5 separate regions of the Homo sapiens genome follow, and regions 1, 2, 3 and 4 are each linked to region 5. Evidence: promoter capture Hi-C in human tissues and cell types (Jung and others, 2019). All regions are on one chromosome and are shown on one strand. The core of a region is centred on a gene start or on the middle of the fragment in contact, and the rest is flanking DNA. Distances in the headings are between cores, read along the strand shown.

Region 1 (2,700 bases), core at 199-2,698, 320 kb after region 5:
TTTTTTTTTTTTTTTTTTTTTTTTGGAGACGGGGTCTTGCTGTGCTGCCCAGGCTGGAGTGCTGTGCAGTTCTCGACCACAGCTCATTGCAGCCTCGAACTTCCACGCTCAAGCGATCCTCCCACTTCAGCCTCCTGAGTAGCTGGGATTACAGGCATGTGCCACCACGCCTCGCTAATATTTGTATTTTTCATACAGACAAGATCTCACTATGTTGCTCAGGGTAGTCTCGAATTCTGGGACTCAAATGATCCTCCCACTTCAGCCTCCCAAAGTGCTGGGATTACAGGCATAAGCCATCATGCCCGGCCTCTGACGCTGTTTCTTTCAACCCCCAGGATTTCAGATTCCACCAGCTTATGGAGAAGGGAACCAAGTTTGAGATGCGTGATTGCCCAGAAAGTTGGAGGCTGAGCTGAGACTTGAACCCAGAGACCAGAACCTCCAGAGGTCAAAGTCCTCCTGGGTCCCCCAGAGAAGGGCCCTGAGATGACAGCTCGTTGGTCCTCATGGAAGCGTGACCCCCCCAGTAGACTTTCTCCCACACCCAACCTTGGTTTCCTCATCTATATGATAGGGACAAGCCAGACTCTACCTCCCTGGTGGTCATGGTCTCCGCTTATTCGGGTTCATAACCTTAAAGGCCCCTCGCACCACCTCAGTGAGCCATTTATGCCTGGCACAGGGCCAACTCTCAGTGCATATCTGCAAAGGAACCAATGAATGAATGAATGAAGTGACAAATGAATAAAGGAATAAATGAATGAGGCACTTATCATGTACCAGGCTTTCGTTACCACGTCCCATTTATTCCTCTGAGGCAGGGTCTATTTTATCCTTGTTACAGATGGGGAAACTAAGGCCCAGGGAGGAGCAAAGTCTTCCCCAAGTATGTACCCACTCAGAACTTGAGCTCTGAATGTCTCCCACCCAGCTTAGCCCAAGAGCGGGGTTCAGTGATGCCCACCCCCTAAGGCTCTAGAGAAAGGGGGTAGGCCCACATGCCAGTTTGGGGGTGGTAAAGCCAGGTAAGTTTTCTTTATGGGTCCCCTGAAACCCTGAAAGTGAACCCCAGTCCTGCATGAAAGTGAGCTCCCCATAGCTCAAGGTATTCAAGCACAATACGGCTTTGAGTGCTGAAGCAGGCTGTGCAGGCTTGGATAGTGACATGCCCTCTCTGAGCCTCAATTTCCCCACCTGTCAACAGCAGACAGTGACAGCTGTGATCAGGGGATCACAGTGCATGGGGATGGGTGGGTGCATGGGGATGGAGGGGCATTTGGGAGCCCTCCCCGATACCACCCCCTGCAGCCACCCAGATAGCCTGTCCTGGCCTGTCTGTCCCAGTCCAGGGCTGAAAGGGTGCGGGTCCTGCCCGCCCCTAGGTCTGGAGGCGGAGTCGCGGTGACCCGGGAGCCCAATAAATCTGCAACCCACAATCACGAGCTGCTCCCGTAAGCCCCAAGGCGACCTCCAGCTGTCAGCGCTGAGCACAGCGCCCAGGGAGAGGGACAGACAGCCGGCTGCATGGGACAGCGGAACCCAGAGTGAGAGGGGAGGTGGCAGGACAGACAGACAGCAGGGGCGGACGCAGAGACAGACAGCGGGGACAGGGAGGCCGACACGGACATCGACAGCCCATAGATTCCTAACCCAGGGAGCCCCGGCCCCTCTCGCCGCTTCCCACCCCAGACGGAGCGGGGACAGGCTGCCGAGCATCCTCCCACCCGCCCTCCCCGTCCTGCCTCCTCGGCCCCTGCCAGCTTCCCCCGCTTGAGCACGCAGGGCGTCCGAGGACGCGCTGGGCCTCCGCACCCGCCCTCATGGAGGCCGTGGAGACCGGGGAACGGCCCACCTTCGGAGCCTGGGACTACGGGGTCTTTGCCCTCATGCTCCTGGTGTCCACTGGCATCGGGCTGTGGGTCGGGCTGGCTCGGGGCGGGCAGCGCAGCGCTGAGGACTTCTTCACCGGGGGCCGGCGCCTGGCGGCCCTGCCCGTGGGCCTGTCGCTGTCTGCCAGCTTCATGTCGGCCGTGCAGGTGCTGGGCGTGCCGTCGGAGGCCTATCGCTATGGCCTCAAGTTCCTCTGGATGTGCCTGGGCCAGCTTCTGAACTCGGTCCTCACCGCCCTGCTCTTCATGCCCGTCTTCTACCGCCTGGGCCTCACCAGCACCTACGAGGTACCGGACAGAGGCCCGGGGGTAGGACCTGCCCCACTGGCAGTGCTGGGACCCCGTGTGGGGGAGGCGCTGGGGCTTTGGGCCGCTGTACAGGAGGACGCGGATGGCACCTCGGTGCTTTAACGGAAGGGGCCCCTAGGCAGACACGTGGGGAGGGTTCTAGGAAGAGGCCCCAGGCGCCCGGCGAGGGGCAGGAAGGAGGAAGAGAGAGCCTGGCGTCCTGCTCCTTCGGTGGAAGCGCGCGCGGGGCGGGGCCCGGCTCGACCAGGTGTGTCCTCACGGGTGGACACACACCTGCCCCCCACCTGCCCGGGCGTGCAGACCCACGTGTGCGCGCTAGAGGGGACTGCTGACGGCTCCGGGGTTCGAAACCTGGCTTCACTGCTTTCTTGTATCTTGGGCAAGGGGCGTGCCTCTCTGTTTGGGTTTCCCAGCTGTCCAATGGGCGAATTACAGGACCTCCCTCCAGGGGAGAGGGTAAAGCGATTAAAATCGTGACCGGGGCCCGGTGCGGTGGCTC
Region 2 (2,700 bases), core at 76-2,575, 450 kb after region 5:
TCCTCCCGGACTTAACGGCCTACTGTCTCCCCTCTAGTATCCATTGAAACCTGGCCTAAGGTCCCAGACCTTCCTTTCAACTCCAAAGACCCATCCTCCCAGGCAGCCTTCCAGGCTGATCACTGTGCCTCCAACTCCGTCGTTCCTGTTCCGATCCCCATCACGGGCTGAGGGTGACCGTGTTTGTTTATGACCGCCCCCTCCACCCACACACCTCACTGAGGTGGTGGAAGTCTCCTGAGCCAGGCTCAGAGGCGGACAGTCACGGCAGGGGATGGGTTCAGCGGCAGCGCATTACGCTGCCACGAGAGGGCGCCAGCGTCCCGCAGACGACGCAGAGGCAACTCCCGCTGGAGAAACTCCATGCGACTTTTCTTTGGGGAAACTGAAGCCCAGAGAGAGGTCACGCCGTCCCGTGGCCACACCGCAGCTGTGGACCTGGGGGTGCCCGAGCGTCCCCTGCATTCAGCTCTGTGGCGGGACGGGGGCTGAGGATGACTGGAGCAGGCACAAGGGCTGCGGGGAAGGTAGGGTTTGCCAGAGGCTGAAAATTGGGAAGGGAACATCATTTCGTAGGTACCGCTCCTGGGCGAATGCGCCGAGGCGCGACCGAGTGACGGTATGTCAAGAGCAGGTTGATGACCCGGGAGCGAGGCTCTTGGAGGAGTCCAGCTGGGGCTGCACGATGATCCATGCACAACCTTCTGAGGTCAGGACTGATTTTTACTTTCTCCCGGCTCTACAGAGGTGGAAACTGAGGCTCCAAGAGGTTGTCATTTGCCCAGAGCCACCAGCTAAGCGGGACTTGAATCAGGAAAGGGGTGCAGCAGGCACCAGTGTGGAGGGCGGTCCCACCCACCTCCTCCACTTCTCCCTTTGCATAGCGGGGGAAACAGGCCTGGAACAGTCATAGGCTCTCTGGCCCTCAACTGGGGCGAGAGTCCCCCGCCCCAAATCGGGCTGGACATGCCTCGAGTCACGTCAACGAGGGGCGGCTGGTGAGTGATTAAGCCGAGAGGCTGAAGGCTCTGCTAGGTGACCTCAGGCCTGGGCCCTGCCTCTGCACCTCTTTTTTTCCTCTTTACCCCCGGGGTCCGCGAGAGACCAGCTCTGGCAGCCTAAGGGCTTCAGTTTCTCCCCGGGGTCCGCGAGGGAAGGGGGCAGCCGGCGGTGAGCAGGGGCGTTTGTTATTTTGCTCCACGCCTGGGCAGAGCCACGCCCCTTGTCGCGCTATTGGTGGAGTCCCTTCCCGGGGCGGGGAAGAGACGGTGACCCCACCCCCCCCCGCCCTGCCGTATAAAAGCGGCGCCGACGCACGGCGCGGGGATTTTCTGCTCCGGTTGGTGAGCGCGCCTGCGCGTTGACGGCGATTTTGCGTTCTGAGGCTGCAGCGTCGGCATCTTGAGCTGCCGGTTCGCGAGTTCGAGGCCAGGTTCCGCCTGTCGTGGGTTCGCACCCCGGACGCGATGCTATTCGACAAGGTGAAAGCGTTCTCGGTGCAGTTGGACGGCGCGACCGCGGGCGTCGAGCCCGTGTTTAGCGGCGGCCAGGCCGTGGCGGGCCGGGTGCTGCTGGAGCTGTCAAGCGCCGCGCGTGTGGGTGCCCTGAGGCTGCGCGCGCGGGGCCGCGCCCACGTGCACTGGACCGAGTCGCGCAGCGCGGGCTCGAGCACGGCTTACACGCAGAGCTACAGTGAACGCGTGGAGGTCGTGAGCCACCGCGCCACGCTCCTGGCGCCAGGTACGGATGGAGGACCCCTGCTCCAACACCAGTTGTGTGCCTCCCACCACCTGGACGGCGGTACCTCCGTCAGCCCTGGGACCCCAGCGCAACCGCTCAGTCGCCTCCTTTTTCTCCTACCTGCAGATACCGGGGAGACCACGACGCTGCCTCCTGGGCGCCATGAGTTCCTGTTCAGCTTCCAGCTGCCCCCGTAAGTCCTCTGGGGTGCAGGGTTGCCCTAAGCCTGCAGCCCCTTCCAGATTGGTACCTCCAATACTGGATATCTGGGCACCTCTGAGCCCCAAGACTCTCCCCCTGGGAGGCCCCCGGAGTGTCTGTGTCTCCTTCTCCCTGCCTGCTTGTCTCTGTATCTTGTCCCCTGAAGTCCCGTCCCTCCACCCTAGGACCCTGGTGACATCCTTCGAGGGCAAACACGGTAGTGTCCGCTACTGTATCAAGGCCACCCTGCACCGGCCCTGGGTCCCAGCACGCCGGGCAAGGAAGGTGTTCACTGTCATCGAGCCTGTGGACATCAACACGCCAGCCCTGCTGGTGAGTGGCCACCCTTGGGGAGGTAGGTTGGGAGTATTGTAGGAAGGGGCCTGCCTGGCTGCTGGGCGACACCAACCAATAAGATGGAGGTCATAGGTGGGCCCTGGCAGGGAGGGAGGCAGGTGTGGGAATGCGTGTGGAATCCACTGGGATCTGCACCCATTTGCCGTGTGACTCTGGGCAAGTGTCTTGAAGCCCTCTCTGAGCCTCAGATGCCTCTTCTGTGAAATAGACCAGAGCTAGGGCTTACCAAGTGTGAATTACACACCAAACACTTGGCTTATACATTTCATTTCTGGCTTTATAAGATGGGTTGTGTTCCTGGCTCTATTTAACGGATAGTTCCTGGATTGTTAAAAAGAAACCAAGCCCTGCCCAAAGTCCTCCCTCAGCTGGGGGTGGTTTGGAAGCTCCACAGCGACTGTG
Region 3 (2,700 bases), core at 120-2,619, 360 kb after region 5:
CCTGTTCCTCCTCGTCCTCTGAGCCCTGTCTTGCAGCCCTGTTGAATGTTCTCCTAAATGGCTGGGAGGTGGGGCCCCTCCCCTTCAGGTCCACAGGCTTGTCTCTGTCTCCCCTGCTGATCTTGGTATCTGTAGCTTAAGCCAATACTGAGGCCCTGAATTCCTATTCTTTCTGGTACAGCGGGAGAGTTGTCAAGAAGCCAGGTGGAGCAGAAGACAAGACCAGGCAGGAAGCAGGTAAGTTTCCACTGGAATGACTCCACTTGCCTCCTACCGAGGCCCAGGGCTGTGTCAGCTTCAGGTGCAGCTGGCTCCAGGCCCACCTGGGGCACAGCACGGCAAGGATGGAAGGTCTCCCCTACATCCTATTCTCCCCAGAGCCAGGTCTGAGACGGGCTGGGATTGAGGATCATCCCAAAACTGGTGGCTCTCAGGAGGTAGCTCACCTCATGCCACCTACCCCACCAAGATGGAATCTTTTTTTTTTTTTTTTTTTGAGACAGACTCTTGCTCTGTCACCCAGGCTGGAGTGCAGTAGCATATTCTTGGCTCACTGCAACCTCCGTCTCCCGGGTTCAAGCGATTCTCCTGCCTCAGCCTCCCGAGTAGCTGGGATTACAGGCACCCGCCACCACACCCAGCTAATTTTCATATTTTTAGTAGAGACAAGGTTTCGCCATGTTGGCCAGTCTGGTCTTGAACTCCTGACCTCAAGTGATCTGCCCACCTAGGCCTTCCAAAATGCTGGGATTATAGGCGTGAGCCACCACTCCTGGCCTAAGGATGGAATCTTGATGAAATTGCTGTGTGGCCTGCAGCCAGTCGCTGCCCCTCTCTGGGTCATCCACGTTGCTTTCTCCAAGTCCTGACCTGGCAATGGATTGTTCAAGGAGCTGGTCAAATCCACAGTTGCCCCAGCAATGCAGAGCCCTCAAACATGAAAAAAAAAAATCTAGACAGAAAGATTTTTTTTTTTCTTAGAAAAATGAGCCAGGTGCAGTGCCTCACGCCTGTAATCCCACCACTTTGGGAGGTGGGGCGATCATCTGAGCCCAGGAGTTTGAGACCAGCCTGGGCAACATGGTGAAACTGCATCTCTACAAAAAATACAAATATTAGCCTGGTATGGTGATGCATGCCTGTGGTCCCAGCTACACAGGAGGCTGAGGTGGGAGGATCGCCCGAGCCTGGGAAGTTGAGGCTGCAGTGAGTTGTGATCATGCTACTGCACTTCAGCCTGGGTGATGGGAGTGAGACCCTGCCTCAAAAATCTAAAAAAAGAAAAAAAAAGAATATTAGATTACAAAATTCACATTACTGTGGAAATTGCTTTTGCCCTTCCAAAACAAATCATAAAACATGTTTCCTGGTGAATACATACAAATCTTACTAAATCTTCTTTTGAATACATATAAATCTTATTAAATCTTCTTTTAATTTATTTTTTTAAATTTGGCTTTTCTTTTTTCTTTTTAATCACAAAATAATTTCAAGAGCCAATTTGTCCTGGAGGCCTTGTTATGAAAATCTGCAGACCCCTGCGGCTCTCATGTTTGACGAAATCAAGAAAAACATTAACACAATCGTTGCAGAAGGGTGACCAATGCGGTTGCTTTGCGGCTGAGTATTGGTTTTATTTCAAAACACAATGTAAGAGGAACAAACAAAACACACATCCCACTCAACACCACACTTCTGACACCAGATGTGTGGGTTGTCTTTATTTTTTCCACATAGTAAGCAATTCTCCAGTGGACACCAGCTGGGATTCCTCTGATGCAATTTGGTTCCGATGCTATCTACTCGGACACAGCATCAGATCCCGCAGGTTAAGGGCTCAATCCCACAAAACAGCCCGCCTTGAGACACAATGGTCTCTATAGAGTGGGATACCCCACCCTTGCAACCTGCAGATGTGTTCATCAACTCGGAAGCTCTTCAAACCCCATCTTTTGGGGATTTTTATGGGGGCTTCATTATGAAGGCATGATTGATTATTAACTCAGTCCCTAGCCCCTCTCCGGTCTCCAGAGAAAGAGGGTGGGGCTGAAAGCTCCAAGCTTCTAATGATGGCTTGGTCTTGTTGGTCCCCACCCAGGAACCCACCAAGAGTCATCTTTTTAGAACCAAAGACGCTCCTATCACCCAGGAAACTCTAGGGGATTTAGGAGCTCTATGTCAGACACTCCCATCACTCTGTCAGGAACTGGGGTCAAAAGACCAAATATTTATTTATTTATTTATTTATTATTATTTTGAGACGGAGTCTCGTTCTGTTGTCAGGCTGGAGCGCAGTGGTGCGATCTCAGCTCACTGCAGCCTCCGCCTCCTGGGTTCAAGCGATTCTCCTGCCTCAGCCTACCGAGTAGCTGGGACTACAGGTGTGCGCCACAGGCCTGGCTAATGTTTGTATTTTTAGTAGAGATGAGGTTTTGTTATGTTGGCCACCCTGGTCTCAAACTCCTGGCCTCAAGTGATCTGCCCACTTCCACCTCCCAAAGTGCTGGGATTACAGGCATGAGCCACCCTGCCCAGACTATTTATTTTTATTTTTAAACTTTTCTTTAGAAAAAGAATCTTGCTGTGTTGCCCAGGGTGGAGTGCAGTGGGGAGATGTTGATTCACTGCAGCCTCAAACTCTCAGGCTCAATCAATCCTCCCACCTCAGCCTCCCGAGTAGCTGGGACTATAGGCACACAC
Region 4 (2,700 bases), core at 83-2,582, 340 kb before region 5:
TGTTGGCCAGGCTGCTCTCCAAACTCCTGACCTCCAGTGATCCATCCACCTCACCCTCCCAAAGTGCTGGGATTACAGGCGTGAGCCACCGCACCTGGCCCTCCATGGTATTTTCTTTTTTTTTTTTTTTTTTTGAGACGGAGTCTTGCTTTGTTGCCCAAGCTGGAGTGCAGTGGCACAATCTCGGCTCACTGCAACATCCACCTCCTGGGTTCAAGCGATTCTCCTGCCTCAGTCTCCCAAGTAGCTGGGATTACAGGCACCCACCATCACGCCCGGCTAATTTTTGTATTTTTAGTAGAGACGGGGTTTCACCATGTTGGCCAGGCTGGTCTCAAACTCCTGACCTCAGGTGATCCATCTGCCTCAGCCTCCCTAAGTGCTGGGATTACAGGTGTGAGCCACCGCACCTACCCGTCTATGATATTTTTCAAGGACATCAGGCCCACTGGTGTAACCAAGGTGCAGATGACCTAAGGTGTGGGAAAACATGAAGGCTGCATGCCAGGCCCTGGTTCCTGTGAAGCCCCCACCCTCATCCTGTCACTCCAGAAGAGAGGCACTGCAAGGCATAGGGGTACTCAGCTTCCAGGTACTGAGGTGGGCTGGGAAGGGGTTCTCCATGGGGGTCTGGGCGTTAGGGGGGACCCAGCCCCACCTTGCTCACTCTCAGGCAGAGCTGTCTCATGTGCCCCTTGAGGCAGGTACTGTCACACTGTCCATTTCCCGGGGGAAGAAGCGGATCCAGAAAAGTTAAACTCTCCCAGGGCCGAGGATGGAATCAGAGCTGGAGCTGTGACCTGGAAACCCATAACCACAATACAGATGAGCCCTGCTGAGGTGGGGGAAGCCTTGGATTCCTGAATCCCAGGCTACAGAAATCGGGAAGGGTGTGTGGACGTGAAATAGCTCCGACTGGGAAGAATCCAGGTAGGAGTGGGGTGCGGGGAGGTACTTTGAGCAGGCAAAACAGAACAAAAGGGCACACTGCACGCGGGTCTGACACCAGAAGACCCCGGTCGTCCTATCATTCCCGAAGGGTTAACATGCTCTCGAGGAAAAGCAAGTGATTCGCCTAAGTAAGAATGGGGTGGCGCCTCTCCTATTTTTTTAAAATAGAGATAGAGTAGCGCTATCTTGCCCGGGCTGGCCTCAAGCAATCCTTTCCCACCTCTGCCTCCTAAAATGCTGGCATTACAGCCCTGAGCCACCGCGCCCGGCCCAGCGCCCCGTCTCAAAACAAGATATTACTTCCGCTCCAAACAAAGATGGGCCAGCTAACGAGCGCGGGGGAAACATCCGCCCGGAAGGCCACTTGAAGGCACTTCCGCCCTCTCTTAACATGGAGCCGGCGGAAGGGGTGGTGTAGGGCCGGGCGATAATGGCGGCGTCGAGGCTGGAGCTAAACCTGGTGCGGCTGCTATCCCGCTGCGAGGCGATGGCAGCGGAGAAACGGGACCCGGACGAGTGGCGCCTGGAGAAGGTGAGGGGATCTCGCACTGCCGCGTAGAGCCCGACTCCCGGGGGGTGATTCCTAGGGTTGGAAGCCACCTGGCCCGACTCCCCGGCCCCAGTAGCCTCTCGGGCAGCGCCCTTTCCGGTCAGTCCCGCCACGTCCACCTGTAGCTTCCGCCCCCGTCCCTGGGACTCCGCCCCTCCCCCACTGGCCCCGCCTCCTTTACGCTTGACCCCTCCCATTTGTCGGCCCCGCCCCCCCGACTCCCATGATCAGGACATGGGAAAGACCCCCGGGTGACAATCCACTTTTCCTCCCCAGTACGTGGGAGCCCTAGAGGACATGTTGCAGGCCCTGAAGGTCCACGCGAGGTGAGTGCAGGCAGCCTCAGGGCTTTCACATCAGCACGTGGCTGTGCTACTGGACATCCCAGTACCGCTATCCCAGCTGGGACCCTTCCCTGAGCTGGGGACCATGGACAGGTTTTGTTTTTCTTCTTCCTGCCTTCCAGCAAACCGGCCTCTGAGGTGATCAATGAATATTCCTGGAAGGTGGATTTTCTGAAGGGGATGCTGCAAGCCGAGAAGCTGGTGAGAAGGGGTGCCCCTGCCCCCTCAGCCCCCATCACCGCTCACTTTGGTCCCCAGGACCTGCCCCTCCAGTGACTTATCTTCCCACATTTCTGCAGACCTCCTCCTCAGAGAAAGCACTGGCCAACCAGTTCCTGGCCCCTGGCCGTGTGCCAACCACAGCCAGAGAGCGAGTGCCCGCCACAAAGACGGTGCATCTGCAGTCACGGGCGCGGTACACCAGCGAGATGCGGAGTGAGCTACTAGGCACGGTAGGGCTCCTTCCCTGGTCCCTGGGAATCCCTTGGACAGGAATAGGGGTTCTATGCTTGTAGGCAGCCAGAACCACAATACTGTCAGATACAGGAACCCTAAGGGGGTCCAGCAATCTCTTCCCTGGGTCATCACACAAGGCTGCCCAACAGAGGGGCATTGTGGCTAAGGCTTTGCTAGATGAATAGGAATTTGGTACAAGGCAAAAATGGAATGTGTCTGGTTAAGCCCCAGAGTTGGCCCAAGAGCAGGGTTTGAGTCCTGGCTTGCAACTTACAAGACACATAAGTTTCTTCAGCCGTAAAAGAGGATGACAAGTTCCTTTCTGAGCACTTTATGTGGATCAGCTCAATCTTTTAAAATATGAGTTGTTGTGGCCAGGTGCGGCAGCTCACGCCTGTA
Region 5 (2,815 bases), core at 74-2,573:
AAAAATTAGCTGGGCGTGGTTGAGTGCACTTGTAGTCCCAGCTACTTGGGAGGCTGAGGCAGGAGGATCAGTTGAGCCCAGGAGGTTGAGGCTGCAGTGAGCCATGATCATGTGATCATGCCACTGCACTCTAGCCTGAGCCACAGAGTAAGACCCTCTCTGTGAAAATAATAATAAGCTGGGCGCGGTGGCTCACGCCTGTAATCCCAGCACTTTGGGAGGCTGAGGTGGGCGGATCAGGAGGTCAGGAGTTCGAGACCAGCCTGGCCAATATGGTGAAACCCCATCTCTACTATAAACAAAAATTAGCCGGGCGTGGTGGCGCGTGCCTGTAGTCCCAGCTACTCAGGAGGCTGAAGCAGGAGAATCGCTTGAACCCGGGAGGCGGAGGTTGCAGTGAGCCGAGATCGCGCCACTGTACTCTAGCCGGGGCAATGGAGTGAGACGCTGTCTCAAAAAAAAAAAAAAAGAAAATAATAATAATAATAATAATAATGTTCAGATGTATTTTTTAAAGTTTTTATTGTTTTTAAAAATAGAGGCACGGTCTTGCTATGTTGCACCACTGCACTCCAGCCCGGGCAACAAAGCCAGACTCCGTCTCAAAAAAAAAAAAAAAAAAGTGTGATACTAAGTCAATCAATTTGAAAATGCGGCTCTAGAGTATTGGAAAACAATCCCTTGACAGCGTTTCCATGAAAACATGGCCCTTGTCTCTGGAAGAGCTTGTGCCCAGAACGGTCCATTATCATGCCCTGGCTCTATTTTCACGCCAACCCTATAGGGTCTCTATGATCTCATTTTATAGATGGACAGACTGAGGCTCACATATAGCAAGCCCAAGGCGGGGACTGAATGTGACGCCAGGTCTGTGGACGTCATGACCTTTATTCTCCACAACCCTCAATGACATCCCTGTGAGATCCAAAACCAGGATGGCAAAACCCACGTTGCAGCAGAGGAAACTGAGGCTAAGGTCTCTTGGGTCCCAAACCAGGTCCTAAGTAGCCAAGTCCGCCTGGTGGCACAGCCCGGGTTTTATACATGGGGAAATTGGGCGGCGCATCTGGCGGAGGTCTCAGTGGTAGGAGGCGCCTGGAGGAAGCGCGGGTTCCTAACCCTAACGCTACCCCTAACATCCCTTCCACGCGCTCCGAGCGCTATGTGCCTTTAAGATCGGTGCGGGGGCGGGGCGTCCTGGGTAGGGCTGCAGGTGACGTCACTCCGGGCCTTGGGACTCGGAGAGCGTCTGGAGGCGGGGCCTGGACTTCACGCCCGGCGCGCTCCTCCCCTTTAAGGCGCGCGGCCGGGCGGGGCCCCTATGACCCCTTTAAGGCGCGGCCAGAGTCCTCCCGCAGAAAAACGACTTAAAGGAGACGCGTGGCGCGATGGCGGCGGCCCCACGCGCGGGCCGGCGGCGCGGGCAGCCGCTCCTGGCGCTGCTGCTTCTGCTGCTGGCGCCACTGCCGCCGGGGGCCCCGCCGGGCGCCGACGCCTACTTCCCCGAGGAGCGCTGGAGCCCGGAGTCGCCCCTGCAGGCGCCGCGCGTGCTCATCGCGCTGTTGGCGCGAAACGCGGCCCACGCGTTGCCCACCACGCTGGGCGCACTCGAGCGGCTGCGGCACCCGCGGGAGCGCACGGCGCTATGGTGAGTCGAGCCCGCTGTCCCCATCAGGCGGGTCACGCGAGCCCCTGCTTGCTGTCCCCATAGGGGTGGGTCCACGCGAGCCCCTGCCCGCTGTCCTCTTCTGGGCGGGTCCGCGCGTGCTTCCTGCTCGCTACCCCCATCGGGACGGTTCTACGCATGCCCCTGCCCGCTGCCCCCATCGGGACGGGTCCACGCGTGCCCCCTGCCTGCTGTCCTCCCATGGGGCCAGACACAGCCCTCCCCACAACACAAGCGGGACCGAGTTCCTCCTGCTGGCTCCTTTGGGGTGGGCTGGGCACCGCTTCTGCCTGCTGGACCCTACTAGGGCAGCTCCGGCCTCACTAACTGGGGCTCTAACTCCCTCTGGGGCACGTACACCTCCAAAGGACGGAGCCCAGAGCCCCCACTGGGGCGTTGCCAGAGGCCACATCTAACAGCAAGCCTTTCTGTGCCGGCTGCTGCCCTTAAGCTTGAACTCAGCCTGGCTCCAGGCCCCAGTCAAACCCCTGCCCTCAGACCGGCGTGGGTGGAGTCCAGGACCAGATGGCCCAGGAGGAAGTGGATGCTTTCTTGGTAGGGAATGGGGCAGAGCTCTGAAGAAACCTTTGACTGGTGACTTCTCACTCCCTGCCTCAGTTTTCTCAAATGGAAAATGGGTCCGGGTGCAGTGGCTCACGCAGTAATCCTAGCAATTTGGGAGGCCAAGGTAAGCGGGTCACTTGAGCTCAGGAGTTCGACACCAGCCTTGCCAACATGGCAAAACCCCGTCTCTAGAAAAAAAATACAAAAATTAGCCAGGTGCGGTGGTGTGTGCCTGTAGTCCCAGCTATTCAGGAGGCTGACGCAGGAGAATCGCTTGAGCCCAGGAGTTCGAGGCTGCAGTGACCTATGATTGCACCACTGCACTCCAGCCTGGGCTACAGAGTAAGACCTGCCTCTAAAAAAAGAAAAAGAAAAGAAAATGAGCGTATTAATATAATTCTCTTTTTGGGTTTGTCTCTGAAGATTATCCAGTTAATGGATGTGGAGCCCTTGGGTCTGGCATGGGCTTGGCTCTCAGTGATTTTATTATCATGATTACTGTCATTGCTGGTGTTATTGTCAACTTAATTTATTGGGCAGAATTAGCTTTTGGCACTACGGTCAAACTAAACTCCCAAATGTCGC

Evidence for each region. Contacts are between HindIII fragments. The study calls those that stand out against the background at their distance.
Region 1: the fragment with the promoter of SLC5A5 here is called in contact with the fragment with the promoter of COLGALT1 in region 5 in 3 of the 25 tissues and cell types used here (IMR-90 fibroblasts, adrenal gland and lymphoblastoid cells).
Region 2: a contact is called between the fragment with the promoter of ARRDC2 here and the fragment with the promoter of COLGALT1 in region 5, in 2 of the 25 tissues and cell types used here (lymphoblastoid cells and mesendoderm cells).
Region 3: a fragment that was not itself captured here is called in contact with the fragment with the promoter of COLGALT1 in region 5 in 4 of the 25 tissues and cell types used here (IMR-90 fibroblasts, liver, lymphoblastoid cells and 1 more).
Region 4: the fragment with the promoter of USE1 here is called in contact with the fragment with the promoter of COLGALT1 in region 5 in 1 of the 25 tissues and cell types used here (spleen).

The regions. Positions count from the first base shown.
Region 1 is chr19:17,870,497-17,873,196 of GRCh38, forward strand. It overlaps SLC5A5 (solute carrier family 5 member 5), which reads left to right and starts at 1,449. Exons shown (of 15, transcript NM_000453.3): 1 at 1,449-2,180. The coding sequence starts at 1,824. The HindIII fragment of the contact is 15,663 bases long and covers 1-2,700 here.
Region 2 is chr19:18,006,845-18,009,544 of GRCh38, forward strand. ARRDC2 (arrestin domain containing 2) reads left to right here and starts at 1,326. Exons shown (of 8, transcript NM_015683.2): 1 at 1,326-1,740; 2 at 1,867-1,933; 3 at 2,127-2,274. The coding sequence starts at 1,467. RefSeq lists an enhancer at 1,380-1,599. The HindIII fragment of the contact is 21,109 bases long and covers 1-2,511 here.
Region 3 is chr19:17,909,337-17,912,036 of GRCh38, forward strand. No RefSeq gene overlaps it. Among named protein-coding and RNA genes, the nearest start is that of CCDC124, 22 kb to the right of the region's middle. The HindIII fragment of the contact is 5,842 bases long and covers 1-2,700 here.
Region 4 is chr19:17,214,025-17,216,724 of GRCh38, forward strand. USE1 (unconventional SNARE in the ER 1) reads left to right here and starts at 1,333. Exons shown (of 8, transcript NM_018467.4): 1 at 1,333-1,483; 2 at 1,778-1,827; 3 at 1,968-2,046; 4 at 2,145-2,297. The coding sequence starts at 1,382. RefSeq lists enhancers at 973-1,553, 1,317-1,636 and a silencer at 1,657-1,726. The HindIII fragment of the contact is 58,541 bases long and covers 1-2,700 here.
Region 5 is chr19:17,554,326-17,557,140 of GRCh38, forward strand. COLGALT1 (collagen beta(1-O)galactosyltransferase 1) reads left to right here and starts at 1,324. Exons shown (of 12, transcript NM_024656.4): 1 at 1,324-1,648. The coding sequence starts at 1,389. It also overlaps a transcript of NIBAN3 not described here. RefSeq lists a silencer at 1,402-1,491. The HindIII fragment of the contact is 12,267 bases long and covers 1-2,815 here.